Linked DNA regions of Homo sapiens: regions 1, 2, 3 and 5 are each linked to region 4. Evidence: promoter capture Hi-C in 16 types of primary human blood cells and fetal thymus (Javierre and others, 2016). All regions are on one chromosome and are shown on one strand. Each heading gives the region's core, a stretch centred on a gene start or on the middle of the fragment in contact. The rest is flanking DNA. Distances are from core to core; before and after follow the strand shown. Region 1 overlaps CENPW (centromere protein W). Region 2 has its middle 31 kb from the start of CENPW. Region 3 has its middle 170 kb from the start of TRMT11. Region 4 holds the start of RSPO3 (R-spondin 3). Region 5 has its middle 150 kb from the start of TRMT11.

Region 1 (2,700 bases), core at 189-2,688, 770 kb before region 4:
TCAGGAGAGCAGCATGGGGAAAACCGCCCCCCATGATCTAATCACTTCCCTTCCTCCACATGGAGGGATTACAATGTGAGGTGAGATTTGGGTGTGGACAGAAAGCCAAACCATATCACCAATTATTTGATTTCTTTTAACTTTGTTTTGGCAGAGGTTGCAGTGTGCCAAGATCGCACCATTGCACTCTAGCCTGGGCAACAAGTGCGAAACTCCGTCTCAAAAAAAGGAAAAAAAAATCTCTTATAAGTAGAGATGATTGCTTTTTACTGTTATTTTTATATAATGTTAAGAATATGTTGCCTACGGTGCAGTTTTCCAGATATGTTCCTGAAAATGTTATTTCCAAATGATGTTAATCAAGGCCCTACCTCAGATGCTTCTGTTGTCAAATAAGTGTAGATAACCTTGCATACTATACTTCCTTGATTAGTCACAGTATTATTGTAGAACTTGTTTCTGTAAGAATATGTAAGAAACTGGCAACCACAGTTGACTGGGGATGATAGAGGAGGGAAACTTATTTTTGACAGTCTACCTCTTTGTAGACGTTTTTGTTTTAGATTTATTTTGAAATAAGGTACAAAAGATAGTTTAGAGTTCCCATGTACCCTGTATCCAGTTTCTCATAATCCTAATGTCTTAAATAACTATAGTCATGTAAAGTTATGAAAGGCTATGAGAGAAATATAGCAATAAGGAAACTTGTTGAACTCCATTTAGTATTTTGTAAGTTTGAGTACATAATATACTCAGCGTTTTGTAAATTCATTTGAGTATTCAAACTTTCTTTTGAAGTACCCATGATAATTATCTTGTAGGACAGAGAAGTACTAGTCTAGATACAGATTTATTTGATGGTCTTGTGGAAGCCTAGAAATGTGCATGTCTTGGCATTTTCTAGGGCCTTTAAATTATCTTGCAATTATAAACATTCCAACAAATTTCTACACTATTAAAGTCAATGTAAATATTTTTCTGTGGGAAAAACAAGGCTTAAGATATTGAAGAATATACACGTGTTTTTTACATTTAGGATTTTTATTAATAAACTGTAGGTTTATTTACTTAAAATAGTAGATAAGTTTTTTTTTAAAAAAAGAGATATTCTGACTAATACCGTCAGTCTTTTTACAACTAAAAATCTCCTTTTTTTATTTGTGCCACAGACTATTATTTTGAAAATAATCTACTTAACAGGTTGTTCAGCATAAGATGACTAGTTTTAGTCTCAAATGATTATAATTCCAGTCCAACTATAAGAAATTTAATGTTGCAGTGGATTTGTCCTAGTTTATAGTTGTGAAATGTCTGATTTATAATAGACTTTTTGAGTCTAATATAGACTCAAGAATATTGTTTAACTCTTTAATTGGTATTGTTTAACTCCTAATTTAGATAACTAAATTGTCTAAAAATTTCAAATTCGAAACCATTAATCTGGACACTTTTGGTTTACAATAGAAGAAATTAACATCTAGAGGTAACTAATAAAGGCAGGTTTTTAGAATCTAGGCATGTTTCATATTCATTGAGATAAGACTGTTTTTAGAGAAATCTAAGACTATAAGACAAAAGATTCCCTAATCACCTGGAAGGTGATTTCCAATTTGGAAAATTGGGTTTTATAAATTCAGTCTTGCATATTATGCACCCAGGACTATTTAACTTTTTGTTAAGGAATGATGTTTTATTTTTCATAGATATAATATGAATCTTATTTTTTTCCCTCTTACAGGTAATTCTAAAGAAGAGCAGAGGTTAGAAGTCAAAGAACATATTCTTGAAAGTTATGATGCATTCTTTTGGGTGGTAACAGATCATAAAGACATTTTTTACACATCAGTTAATATGGGATTATTAAATATTGGCTATAAGTGATGTGTGTGTTTGTATTTTTTTTCTGGCATGAAATATCTCAAGTAAATGCATAGGACTATTTAACCCTTTTATGGGAATTACTATTATTTTTATTTTAAATGTCCTCTAGTTCAGTTTGCTTTTGTTTTGTTGCTGCTGCAAATATTTTATGTATCAAAAATGAAATCTTACTATATTAAATACTTTGAAAATGTACTTCTTAGAATTAAGTTTATATATATTTAGATTTAGCCACAGTTAACTATGGAATTTAATCTCTGAAGAAAGGCAAATGCAGTCAAATCTAGGTGCACTTTCAATATTTTAACTTTTAATGTCTTTGCAAAGCAATGCAATCTACTTTTATATTATGCCAGTAGTAATGTTATAATTTCTCAGCTGGACAATTATAAACATCAGGTAGGTTTTTCAAAACCTATCTCCCTCCCAAAACCAAAATAATAGAAATTTGGAGCAAATGACTTATTTTCTTCAAGTCTCATGGATTTAATAGATAATTTTTCCCCCTAAATAAGATAATTTAGAAGTTTATTATGTATCATCAAATAGTTGTTACTTTTAACTTTTTATTTAGAAATAATTATAGATTTCAACATGTAGTTGCAAAGATAGTACAGAGAAGTCCCATGTACAGTACACCCAGTTCCCCCAATGGTTACATCTTACATAACTATAGTATAATATCAAAACCAGGAATTTCATATAGGTACAGTGTACATGTAGTTCTGTTGCCATTTTATGGTGTAGATTTGTTTAACCATTACTGTAATTAGAAATGTTTCATTACCAAAAAAGTCTCTTTGTGCTATCCTTTTACAA
Region 2 (2,700 bases), core at 15-2,514, 750 kb before region 4:
TTTAAAGTTGTTGATTATGGCCATTCTTACAGGAGTAAGGTGGAATCACATTGTGGTTTTGATTTGCATTTCCCTGATCATTAGTGATGTTGAGCATTGTTTCATATGTTTGTTGGCCATTTGTATATCTTTTGAGAACTATCTATTCATGTCCTTAGCCCACTTTTTGTTGGGATTGTTTGGTTTTTTTCTTGCTGATGTTTTTGAGTTCTTTGTAGATTCTGGATATTAGTTCTTTGTCAGAGTTATAGATTGCAAAGATTTTCTCCCACTTTGTGTGTTGTCTGTTTACTCTGCTCATTGTTTCTTTTGCTGTGCAGAAGTTTTTTAGTTAAAGTCCTATCTATTTATCTTTGTTGCATTTGCATTTGCTTTTGGGTTCTTTGTCATGAAGTATTTGCCTAAGCCAATGTCAAGAAGGGTTTTTCCAATGTTATCTTCTAGAATTTTTATGGTTTCTGGTCTTTGATTTAAATCTGTGATCCATCTTGAGTTGATTTTTGTATAACGTGAGAGATGAGGATCCAGTTTCATTCTACCTGTGGCTTGCCAATTATTCCAGCATCATTTGTTGAATAGGGTGTCCTTTCCCCACTTTATGTTTTTGTTTGCTGTGTCAAAGATCAGTTGGTTGTAAGTATTTGGCTTTATTTCTGGGTTCTCTATTCTGTTCCATTGGTCTATGTGCCTATTTATACCAGTACCATGATATGTTGGCAACAATGGCCTTATAGTATAGTTTGAAGTTAGGTAATGTGATGCCTTCAGATTTGTTCTTTTTGCTTAGTTTTGCTTTGGCTGCGTGGGATTTTTTTGGTTTCATATGAATTTTAGTATTTTTTTTTCTAGTTCTGTGAAGAATGATGGTGCTATTTTGATGAGAATTGTATTGAATTTGTAGATTCAATGAATTTGTCATTTTCACAGTGTTGATTCTACCCATCCATGAGCATGGAATGTGTTTCCATGTGTGTCATTTGTGATTTCTTTCATCAGCATTTTGTAGTTTTCCTTGTAGAGGTCTTTCACCTTCTTGGTTAGGTATATTCCTAAGTATTTTATTTTTTACTTTTGCAGCTTTTGTAAAAGGGGTTGAGTTTTTTATTTTATTCTCAGCTTTGTCATGTTGGTGTGTAGCAGAGCTACTGATTTGTGTACATTAATTGTGTATCCTGAAACTTCTCTGATTTCATTGAGCAGTTCTAGGAGCTTTTTGGGAGAGTCTTTAGAGTTTTCTAGGTATACGATCATATCATCAGCAAACGACAGTTTCACTTGCTCTTAACTGATTTGGATGCAGTTTATTTCTTTTTTTTTTTTTCTTGAGATGGAGTCTTGCTCTGTCACCCAGGCTGGAGTGCAGTGGCGTGATCTCGGCTCACTACAACCTCCGCCTCCCAGGTTCAAGTGATTCTCCTGCCTCAGCCTCTTGAGTAACTGGGATTACAGGTGCCCACCACCACGCCTGGCTAATTTTTTGTGTGTGTGTGTGTGTTTTTTTAGTAGAGCTGGGGTTTCACCATGTTGGCCAGGCTGGTCTCGAACTCCTGACCTCAGGTAATCCACCCGCCCTGCCTCCCAAAGTGCTGGGATTATAGGCGTGAGCCACCGTGCCTGGCAGGATGCAGTTTATTTCTTCCTCTTGTCTGATTGCTCTAGCTAGGACTTCCAGTACTATATTGAAAAGAAGTGGCAAGAATGGGTGTCCTTGTCTTGTTCCACTTCTCAGGGGACATGCTTCAACTTTTTCCTGTTCAGTATTATGCTGGCTGTGGGTTTGTCATAGATAGCTTTTATGATCTTAAGGTAGGTCCCTTCTATGGTGATTTTACTGAGGGTTTTAATCATAAAGGGATGCTGGATTTTGTCAAATTTTTTTTCTGCGTCTATTGATATAATAATATGGTTTTTGTTTTTAATTCTGTTTATGTGTTGCATCACATTTATTGAATTGCATATGCTAAACTGTCCCTGCATCCCTGATATGAAACCCAGTTGATCATGGTGGATTACCTTTTTAATATGCTGTTGGATTCGATTAGCTAATATTTTGTTAAGGATTTTTATATCTGTATTCATCAAGGATATTAGTCTATAGTTTTCTTTGTTATGTCCTTTCCTGGTTTTGATATTAGGGTGATACTGGCTTCATAGAATGATTTAGGGAGGATTCCCTCTTTATCTTGTAGCATAATGTCAATAGAATTGGTACCAATTCTTCTTTGAATGTCTGATAGAATTCAGCTGTGAATCCATCTGGTCCTGGGCTTTTTTTGTTGGTATTTTTAAAATTTGTATTTTAATCTCACTACCTGTTATTGGTCCGTTCAGCGTTTCTATTTCTTCCTGGTTTAATCTACAAGCGTTGTATATTTCCAAGAATTTCTTATCTCCTCTAGGTTTTCTAGTTATGTGCGTAAAGATGTTCATAGTAGCCTTGAACAATCTTTTTCTTTTTTCTTTTTCCTGTGGTATCGGTTGTAATAAATCTTATTTCATTTCTAATTGAGCTTATTTGGATTGTCTCTCTTCTTTTCTTGGTTAATCTCACAGTGGTCTATCATTTTATTTATCTTTGCGAGGAACCAGCTTTTTGTTTCATTTATCTTTTATATTGTTATTTTGTTTCAATTTCATTTAGTTCTGTTGTGATCTTTGTTATTTCTTTTCTTCTGCTGGGTTTGGGTTTAATTTGTTCTT
Region 3 (2,700 bases), core at 5-2,504, 960 kb before region 4:
CCTACATCACTGCTTCTCCTGTCCATAGACTGCTCTCTGTCCCTGAGGTTTGACCTCTGGGTAGGGAGGCAGGAAGTGGGCTGCCCACCTCTGATACCTCGTCCACACTTCCTCTTCTTCTTTCTGCCAGCATAGAAATGGCTTTTCATTTCAGTTCTTATCTTCTAGAATTGACAATAGATTATTGTCTTTCTTTTCTACTCTGGGAAGCATGTAATTATTGATCTGAGTCCTTCAAGTTTGGCTTTTATATACAAATACTTAGCTTTGGAGAATTTCAATAGAACCCTTTTCCTCCTCAAGAAAGCCTGGCTCCTGCTAAACCAAAAGCCTTTGCATTCAGGGAATAGCCTTGCTATGGATGTAAAATTTCATATTATAAAGCTGTAAACTGATTGATGACTGCTGCTCTTGGCTGTGTGTTGCTCTTTTCCTGAGTCAATGAACCCCGCTGGATTAAGAGGGTGCAGGGAAGATAAGGAGAACTATAGGAAAGTTACAATTTGAAGTTTACCTGTGATGAAATGACATTGGCTTAATATCACAAAAAGATTAATCATCCAGTACATCAGCATCATCTGTAAGCCACCAATTGACTGTTGGGATTTTTTAGATGGGTCTGATGAAAAGGAATTAAATTTACATTTGGATTTCTATTAATGACTGTATAGTTTGTTCAAAAGAGAGTTACTCTAGTTTTCTTTACCTTGCTGTTATTCAGCTATTTTTTCTCTCTTTTATAATTTAGTCTTTACATTTTTAAATTGTAAAATAAAATGCAGATACAGAATGCTCTCCCATGAATTTGTGTACATGTTAATGAATTGCTTAGTAAATTTTAAGGCAAAAGCCTTTGTAACCAACACTAGATCAAATAGAACTTTGTCAGCCACTCATAAGCCCCTCTATATCCTCTATTCCAATCATAATCCCCTCCCTTCTGCCATATGTAATAATTATGCTATATAACAGAATAATAGTAATAAGCTTATTACTATTATTTTTGATAATCACTTCCTTGTATGTGTGTGTATGTTTAGTTTGAACATTTATATAAGTCCACTCCTACACATTGTAATTTAGTCTTTTCCATTATTTAAAATTTGATCAGTCTTTTGAAACCTTCAGTCTATGGTTCTTCTCTCTACCTCAATCTTTTCCCTGTGCTTTTTCTGTCGAACACCTGGACTGTTTGACCTGTAAAGTTTCCCATGGTCTGGACTTTGCTGAATGCATGCTCATGGTATAGTTTGGTATGTTCCTTTGTCCTTTTGTATTTTCTGCAAATTAGCAGCTGGATCCAGACACTGGATCAGATTCAAGTTCAATATCTTTGGCAATACTAGAAGGAGTGTTTGGGAAGACTATAGGAGGAAGCTCATGTCTATTTCTTTTTATGAGGCCAACAATTGTTGATGTTTAGTGTCTAAATCTATTATATAATAGGTTCTTTAGTGCTACTTTCATGCTCTGGATCCTTATGGTATATGAAAGATTCAAAAAATGTCAGGCAAATAGGAGACAAGCTTCCCCAAATTGTACTGTATTTATTTTTTACATTCTAAATGCCTTTTACTTATTGCATTTGGTATAAACCAGGTTGCAAAGGCCACTTCAAGCTTGGGGCAATGTCGAGCCAAATTTTAGGGAAAAAAGCAATTTCTGTGGCTCTATCTCCCACCTGCTTTTGTGGAACTTCTCCCTCCTACAAAGGCCTCTCTCTCTCACCAGTTACTGTGGGAAGTTCTAGATGGTGTCTTTTGGATGCTCTTGAAATGGTATTCTCAGCTACCACGTGGCATCTTTCTGTCACTTCCCTCGTTGCCCATCCAGCTCTGACTTCCTTTGGTGATGTCTTCTTTAAAGCCTCTGGGCTCTGTGAAACATTACTTAGGTGGCCCCTTGCAGTTGCTACTGCTACTGTGCAGATGTGGGTGACATTTCCCACTGATGCCAAAGGGCAGAGTGTGCTAATTTTTCTTCTAAATGTCTGTTTTCTCCTCCTCTTGGGACACCTGTAATACACTTCTCAACCTCTCTTGCAATGTGATGTGACCGTGTAACTAATTTCTAGACAATGCTAGATATTTGCAAGTGATATGTGCCACTTTGTGGATAGCTGGTTTGTCCCCTCCAAACTTTCTTTCCCCTTTGTGCTGGCTAGATCCAAATGGTGATGGCACTCTGGGCGGAGGTCTGCAAATACCTTAGGCTTTAGTGTCATATGGTCTCTGTCATGACTATGGTACTCAGTTCAGCTGTTATTGTGCAAAACTAGCCATAGACAATGCGTAAACAAATATGTATGGTTTTGTTCCCATAAAACTTTATTTACAAAAAGAATCTCTGAGCTATATTTTGCTGGTACCTTCCCTAGAGGATAGCAGAGCCACAAGACAGAAAGAACTTGGCCACTGATCACTACATAGAGGAAAGCTGCTTGTCAACCAGGAACAGCCATCTTCCACTATTATAATACGGACAAATAAGTTTCTATTGTATTTCATTCATGTTTTAGTTTCCTATGTCTGCCATAACACAGTATTATTACAAAGTAAGAGGCTTAAAACAGTGGAATTTTATTGTCTTGCAGTTCTAGAGGCCAGAAATCCAAAATCAAGGACTGTGGTCCCTCTGAAACCTCTAGAGGAGAATCCTTCCCTGCCTCTTCCTAGCTTTGGGTGGCATCGGTCAGTCCTG
Region 4 (2,700 bases), core at 42-2,541:
CTCTCTGCTGCCTTGGGCCTCCACTTGGGCTGGGAAGATAAGAAAGTAGTGGACCTTCCCCTTCCTTCCCCAAGACTGGGAAAATCTTTCCAAATCTTATTCCCAGTCTTCCAGATGCGAGATTAGAATGTACAACAGATCCTCTCAAGAACACTGGGAGACCGAGGGTGGGAGAGAAAACTCCAAGGGGGGCGAGCTGACTATAGAGGGAATTGCCTGAGCGGGAAAGGAATCTTCCAAAGCCACAGAAAAGCCTTGGTTTGGAAGAAAGCCGTAGCACAGCTGCATTTCCAACGGGAAGGTCCTGAGCGCACACACTTCTGGGTCCTCCCCGCTCGGAGCAGGTAAACCTCAGAGTAGCTGACCGGCAGCACCCACAGAGTTTCCTCCCCACCACCCGCCTGGCGACCAACTGCAGCCGAAAAGAAAGAAAGAAAGGAAAGAAAGAAAGAAAGAAGAAGGAAGGAAGGAAGGAAGGAAGGAAGGAAGGAAGGAAGGAAAGAAAGAAAGAAAGACAAAGAAAGAGGAAGGAAGAAAGAAAGAAAAGAAAGAAAGAGAAAGAAAGAAAGAAAGAAAGAAAGAAAGAAAGAAAGAAAGAAAGAAAGAAAGAAAGAAAGAAAGAAAGAAAGAGAGAGAAAAAGAAAAAGGGAGAAAGGCAACAGAGGAGAAGGTCAGGAAAGCCGGGAACAAGTCAGCAGCCAGAAACTCTCCAGCGATCTGCCAAGGGGGAGAGGGTAGTTGCGCGCCGGCGCTGGGGATGGGGTGGGGGCGCTGGGGCACAAGGGCGCAGGGGCGCACGGCCACCGACAGCCGGGTGCGCCTAGCTTGAGGCCGCGGAGAGGAGCCGAACTGGGATGGGTGGGGGGTCTTCGGCCTCAACACTGCCTGCCAGCCCCAGTGCGCCCAAGTCTCCCCGCCAGAGCTGCCCTTCTGGAGGGGCTCTTCGCACGCACTGCTTTCCCCATTCTTCTGGCTGGAATTCTCCGGCCGTCACTGCAGTGTCCAGAGATGCTGCGCTGTAGACCCGGGACCCCTTAGGCGCCTCTTCCCGTCCCTCTGCCAAAGCGCAACGCCTGTACTTTTCCAGCTCCCTCTTTCCCTCTTGAAATTGAAAGTTATTGAGGTCGCTCAGGGTTGTTGCTCCAGCAGTTTCCTTCCCCGCCCCCGAGCTCCCCCCCGCCCCCCACAGCCATCCCCCCTCCTCTCCCCCTCCCTGCCCTCCTCTCCCTCCCCCCTCCCTGCCCTCCTCCTCCTCCTCCCCTATGTGGTGCTCCCGGGAGCCCAGCCCAACACTGGAGCGTCTCCTGCTCGCGCACGCCAGAAGCAGCTCGGGGTCTCTCCGCCGCCCCTTGGCCATGGCCGCTGTGCCGACGGCGCCCGCTCCCCTGCGCTCCAGGGGCCCCCGCCGCTGCAGCCGCAGCCGCCGCAGCTTCTGAGCCCAAGGGGCCGCCGCTGCAGCCGCCGCCGCCGCCGCTCGCCCGCCCGGATCCCGCCTGCGGCAGTTGCCGCACAACATGCTACCTGCGGCCGCCCCGGCGGCTCCTGGAACCCCGGTTCGCGGCGATGCCAGCCACCCCAGCGAAGCCGCCGCAGTTCAGTGCTTGGATAATTTGAAAGTACAATAGTTGGTTTCCCTGTCCACCCGCCCCACTTCGCTTGCCATCACAGCACGCCTATCGGATGTGAGAGGAGAAGTCCCGCTGCTCGGGCACTGTCTATATACGCCTAACACCTACATATATTTTAAAAACATTAAATATAATTAACAATCAAAAGAAAGAGGAGAAAGGAAGGGAAGCATTACTGGGTTACTATGCACTTGCGACTGATTTCTTGGCTTTTTATCATTTTGAACTTTATGGAATACATCGGCAGCCAAAACGCCTCCCGGGGAAGGCGCCAGCGAAGAAGTAAGTGCAGGGTTTTTTACGCGTTTGCTCCCTCCCGCCGCGTTCACCTGTCGGGTCGCTTTGCCTGTCCGGAGCCGGCTCCCAACTGCAGCGGTCCTCCCGCCCTGCGCCTCGCAGAGGAGATGCAGGTTCGGGCTTTGGGGGTATGGACGGCGTCTTTCACCCTTGCCTCTCGGCGCCCCTGCCTTCCGCAGCATCCTAGCCGGTGCGAGGGGCGGGCGGACGCGGCGCTAAGGTGGCTCCCGCCCCATGGTAACTTCAGGTTCGCGGGAAAGTTCGGTCCTGGGTTAGACTCGCACCCGGGATTTGTGCTTTCCTTTTGAGGATCGGACAGGGGCACCCAGCCGAAGGCACTTGGGACTCCCAGACGCAGGATGCCTCTGACCGCTGAGTAAATGACAAGGGAGGCGCGGCCGCGGTACCCGCTCACCTAGCGCAACCGCCTCGCGCGGGGAGACCTCGGCTGGGCCCTTAGGCTGGACTCCGGTAGCCGAACGCCCGCTACCCGGCCAGGAAGCCAGGGAGCGAGCGCCTGCGCGGCCGCATCCCCGACACGCACCAGCGGAGCCAAAGGGCGCGCGAGGCGATGGGGTTCGCGTGTCTGCGCGTTTGCAGAGCTGCCGGACGTCCCCCGCCCGAGGGTTGAAGACAGCAAAACCCCAGCTGTGGGGAGCCGGAGGTGCGGAGTTTCCAGGTTCTCTCTTGTCACATGTGAGCGTCTGTACCATCTCTGGCCCTTTCAAGTGTGTCCCCTGGGACACACACGTACAGAGAGTGGGGTCTCCCTAAA
Region 5 (2,700 bases), core at 166-2,665, 980 kb before region 4:
TGTGCCCTTTTATTTTCCTGGTTCAATTCCTGGATTAAGTAATAATTCTAATTTTAAGAAATAATATGAAGTTATCCAAATAAATATAGAAGTAGCTGAAACTATTTTTTGCATATTTTAAATTTTATTAAATTTAAATAGTAAAACTAATACATATATCCAGACTATAAAATAAAAATATTATAGGTATGGCTACAATCTCCTTTGATCATTACCATGAATCTTGATCCTTTTTTGAGAAGTAGCAACAGCATTTAATTTGATGTATATCTTTTCAGAAGATTTTATTTTTATTTATGTAACAAATATATATAAATATTTTTTCAAGACTGAGTCTTGCTCTATTGCCCAGGTGGGAGTGCAGTGGTGTGATCTTGGCTCACTGCAATCTCTGCCTCCTGGGTTCAAGCAATTCTCCTGCCTCAGCCTCCCAAGTAGCTGGGATTACAGGCGCCTGCTACCACACCTGGCTAATTTTTGTATTTTTAGTAGAGATGGGGTTTCACCATGTTGGCCAATCTGGTCTTGAACTCTTGACCTCAAATGATCCACCCACCTCACTCTCCCAAAGTGCTGGGATTACAGGTGTGAGCCATCATGCCCAGCCTATGTAACAAATATTTATGGCCACATACTATCTATATAGTTTTTTTTGATGTGTGTGTTTTAAAATGTAAATAGTATTTTAATGTATGTGGTTATTTTGTAACTTCTATTTGGCTACCTTGCTAAACTTTCTAATGTGAACTCTAACAATTCACAAGTTAATTTCTTAGAGGTTTTTTTGGTAATTATTATATCATTTGCAAATAATGATAATTTTGTCTGTTTTTATTCTGATTCTTATATCTGATTTGTTATTGTCTTGGATAGACAAGGATGGTGCAGAAGTGCTGGATAGATAATGATAGTATTTTGCATTATTCCTTACTTTAAGAAATTACTTCTAATATTTTATCCATTAAGTATGGTACTTATTACATATTTCCACTAGTGACATTTATTAAAAGGGTTTTCTTCTATTTCTAATTTCAGAAGATTAAAAATGAGGTATTAAATTTTAGTCAATACCTTTACATTACTTATTTTTTGTCTTTTGTCTTTTAATATGGAGAATTGGTAGGTTCTCTAGTATTGAACCATCCTTGTATTCCTGGGATAAGCCCTATTTGGTCCTGATGTGTAATTAAAAAAAAATCCCTGTATCTGATTTGCTAATATGTAATTCAAGGTGTATATATCTTCATTTATAAAAGTTATTTGTCCATGATTTCCTTTCTTGTGCTTTCTCTTGTTTTGGTATTAGTGCTATATTTGCTTGGTAAAATGGATCAGATAATTTCTTATCTTTGTCTTTACTTTGAAAAGTTTATATAACACAAGAATTATGTGTTTTTTAAGGATGTGATAAAATTCACAAGCAAAATCTTGAGTTGGGTGCCATTTCAAGTATAGTCTTTTCTGTTAGCTTAATGTATTCAGTGGTTACTGATGTGCGTGTTTTAAAAATTCTTTGAGCTGATTTTGATGATTTTTCTAGAAATTTGACCATTTTAGCTAAGTGTTCATATAGGTATGCTAAAATTTCCACCTTAAAATGGAAGATTCATTATTGCTTTCTCACTTGCCAGGGGCAGAGAAATTGTTCTACTTGACAAGTTAATTTTAGCTTTCCACCAACAAAACAACCTACAGAGTATTTGTACTATATGCTGCTTTAGTTTTTGTGGTCTCTCAGTGAAGTTAGTTATTTTGCAATCAAATAATTATGGGAAATTTTGCTTTTAAAAAAATCAAGTGACAATGTATTTTCATAATGACACCTTCGATTCCAGAATTCAGGAATCATAGAATTAAAAAATGCTTCGAATTTTCTTAAACTCCATGTTTCCTCACCAGTGAAATAGAAAATAACAAATAGCTATCTCATGAGGGTAGTTATATTAAAGTACATAATGACTCTACTGGTCTTCATACAACATTTGTGTGTGTTAAGTTATAGGGATAAGTTTGTATTAATATATGCCCTTTGCTTTAGAGAAAACGTACTTAGCAAACTGTGAATTTGAATAAGAGAGTTTTCCTCTATGTGTAAGTAATTATAATTGAATCTGGGGCTTGGACTATTTCTAATCATCTTAATTAATTAGCAGGATAAAGCATAAATGGACTATTTTGTCTAATTTTGGTTATCAAACAAGTAGACCTGTCAGCTTAACTAAAAATAAAATGAACAAATAATTAAGTGATTGCATGTAGCTAGTTACAGCTTTAATCAATGTAATCAGTCAAATAAGTTAAATAGTCAAAAGTATTTGTGTTTTCACACACATGTTAAATCAGTGAGAATGATTTTGTTGTCTTACTGTAATTGTAGGAAAGTAGCAAATTTGAATATATCATTCAAGCATGAATATATAGGTTGTACTGCTGTTGCAAAAATTAAAATTGACAGAAAGATAAATTTATCTACTCCAAGTCCACCAAGCCTGGCAGGCCAGTGAAGGTGATGTGAGAAGAATGGTCAGGAGATGAGGTCAAGAACCTGAACTATATATTCTGTTAAGTTTGGGACACAGTTAACCAACTTAAATCCGTTATTTTGGAAAAGGAGATTATATATGGTGTATATTCAGTATCAGCTGAACAACTTCTCTTTAGCAACATTTGCTCAGTTCTGGCCTTTATCTTTGACCTTCT

What was found. Contacts are between HindIII fragments. The CHiCAGO score rates a contact against its expected background, and 5 or more counts as called.
Region 1: a fragment that was not itself captured here is called in contact with the fragment with the promoter of RSPO3 in region 4 in 4 of 17 cell types (M0 macrophages, M2 macrophages, M1 macrophages and 1 more); the score reaches 8.1 in M0 macrophages.
Region 2: a contact is called between a fragment that was not itself captured here and the fragment with the promoter of RSPO3 in region 4, in 3 of 17 cell types (endothelial precursors, monocytes and M2 macrophages). The highest score is 8.0, in endothelial precursors.
Region 3: a contact is called between a fragment that was not itself captured here and the fragment with the promoter of RSPO3 in region 4, in 1 of 17 cell types (M2 macrophages). The highest score is 6.8, in M2 macrophages.
Region 5: a fragment that was not itself captured here is called in contact with the fragment with the promoter of RSPO3 in region 4 in 1 of 17 cell types (M2 macrophages); the score reaches 5.6 in M2 macrophages.

The regions. Positions count from the first base shown.
Region 1 is chr6:126,346,728-126,349,427 of GRCh38, forward strand. CENPW (centromere protein W) reads left to right here. Exons shown (of 3, transcript NM_001012507.4): 3 at 1,739-2,148. The coding sequence ends at 1,765. Among named protein-coding and RNA genes, the nearest start is that of CENPW, 8.0 kb to the left of the region's middle. The HindIII fragment of the contact is 7,567 bases long and covers 1-2,700 here.
Region 2 is chr6:126,369,447-126,372,146 of GRCh38, forward strand. It overlaps a transcript of CENPW not described here. Among named protein-coding and RNA genes, the nearest start is that of CENPW, 31 kb to the left of the region's middle. The HindIII fragment of the contact is 4,920 bases long and covers 1-2,700 here.
Region 3 is chr6:126,157,096-126,159,795 of GRCh38, forward strand. It overlaps a transcript of TRMT11 not described here. Among named protein-coding and RNA genes, the nearest start is that of TRMT11, 170 kb to the left of the region's middle. The HindIII fragment of the contact is 539 bases long and covers 986-1,524 here.
Region 4 is chr6:127,117,380-127,120,079 of GRCh38, forward strand. RSPO3 (R-spondin 3) reads left to right here and starts at 1,292. Exons shown (of 5, transcript NM_032784.5): 1 at 1,292-1,910. The coding sequence starts at 1,814. LOC105377989 (a long non-coding RNA gene) reads right to left here. Exons shown (of 14, transcript XR_002956387.2): 4 at 1,522-2,700. The HindIII fragment of the contact is 5,242 bases long and covers 1-2,700 here.
Region 5 is chr6:126,139,062-126,141,761 of GRCh38, forward strand. It overlaps a transcript of TRMT11 not described here. Among named protein-coding and RNA genes, the nearest start is that of TRMT11, 150 kb to the left of the region's middle. The HindIII fragment of the contact is 6,644 bases long and covers 1-2,700 here.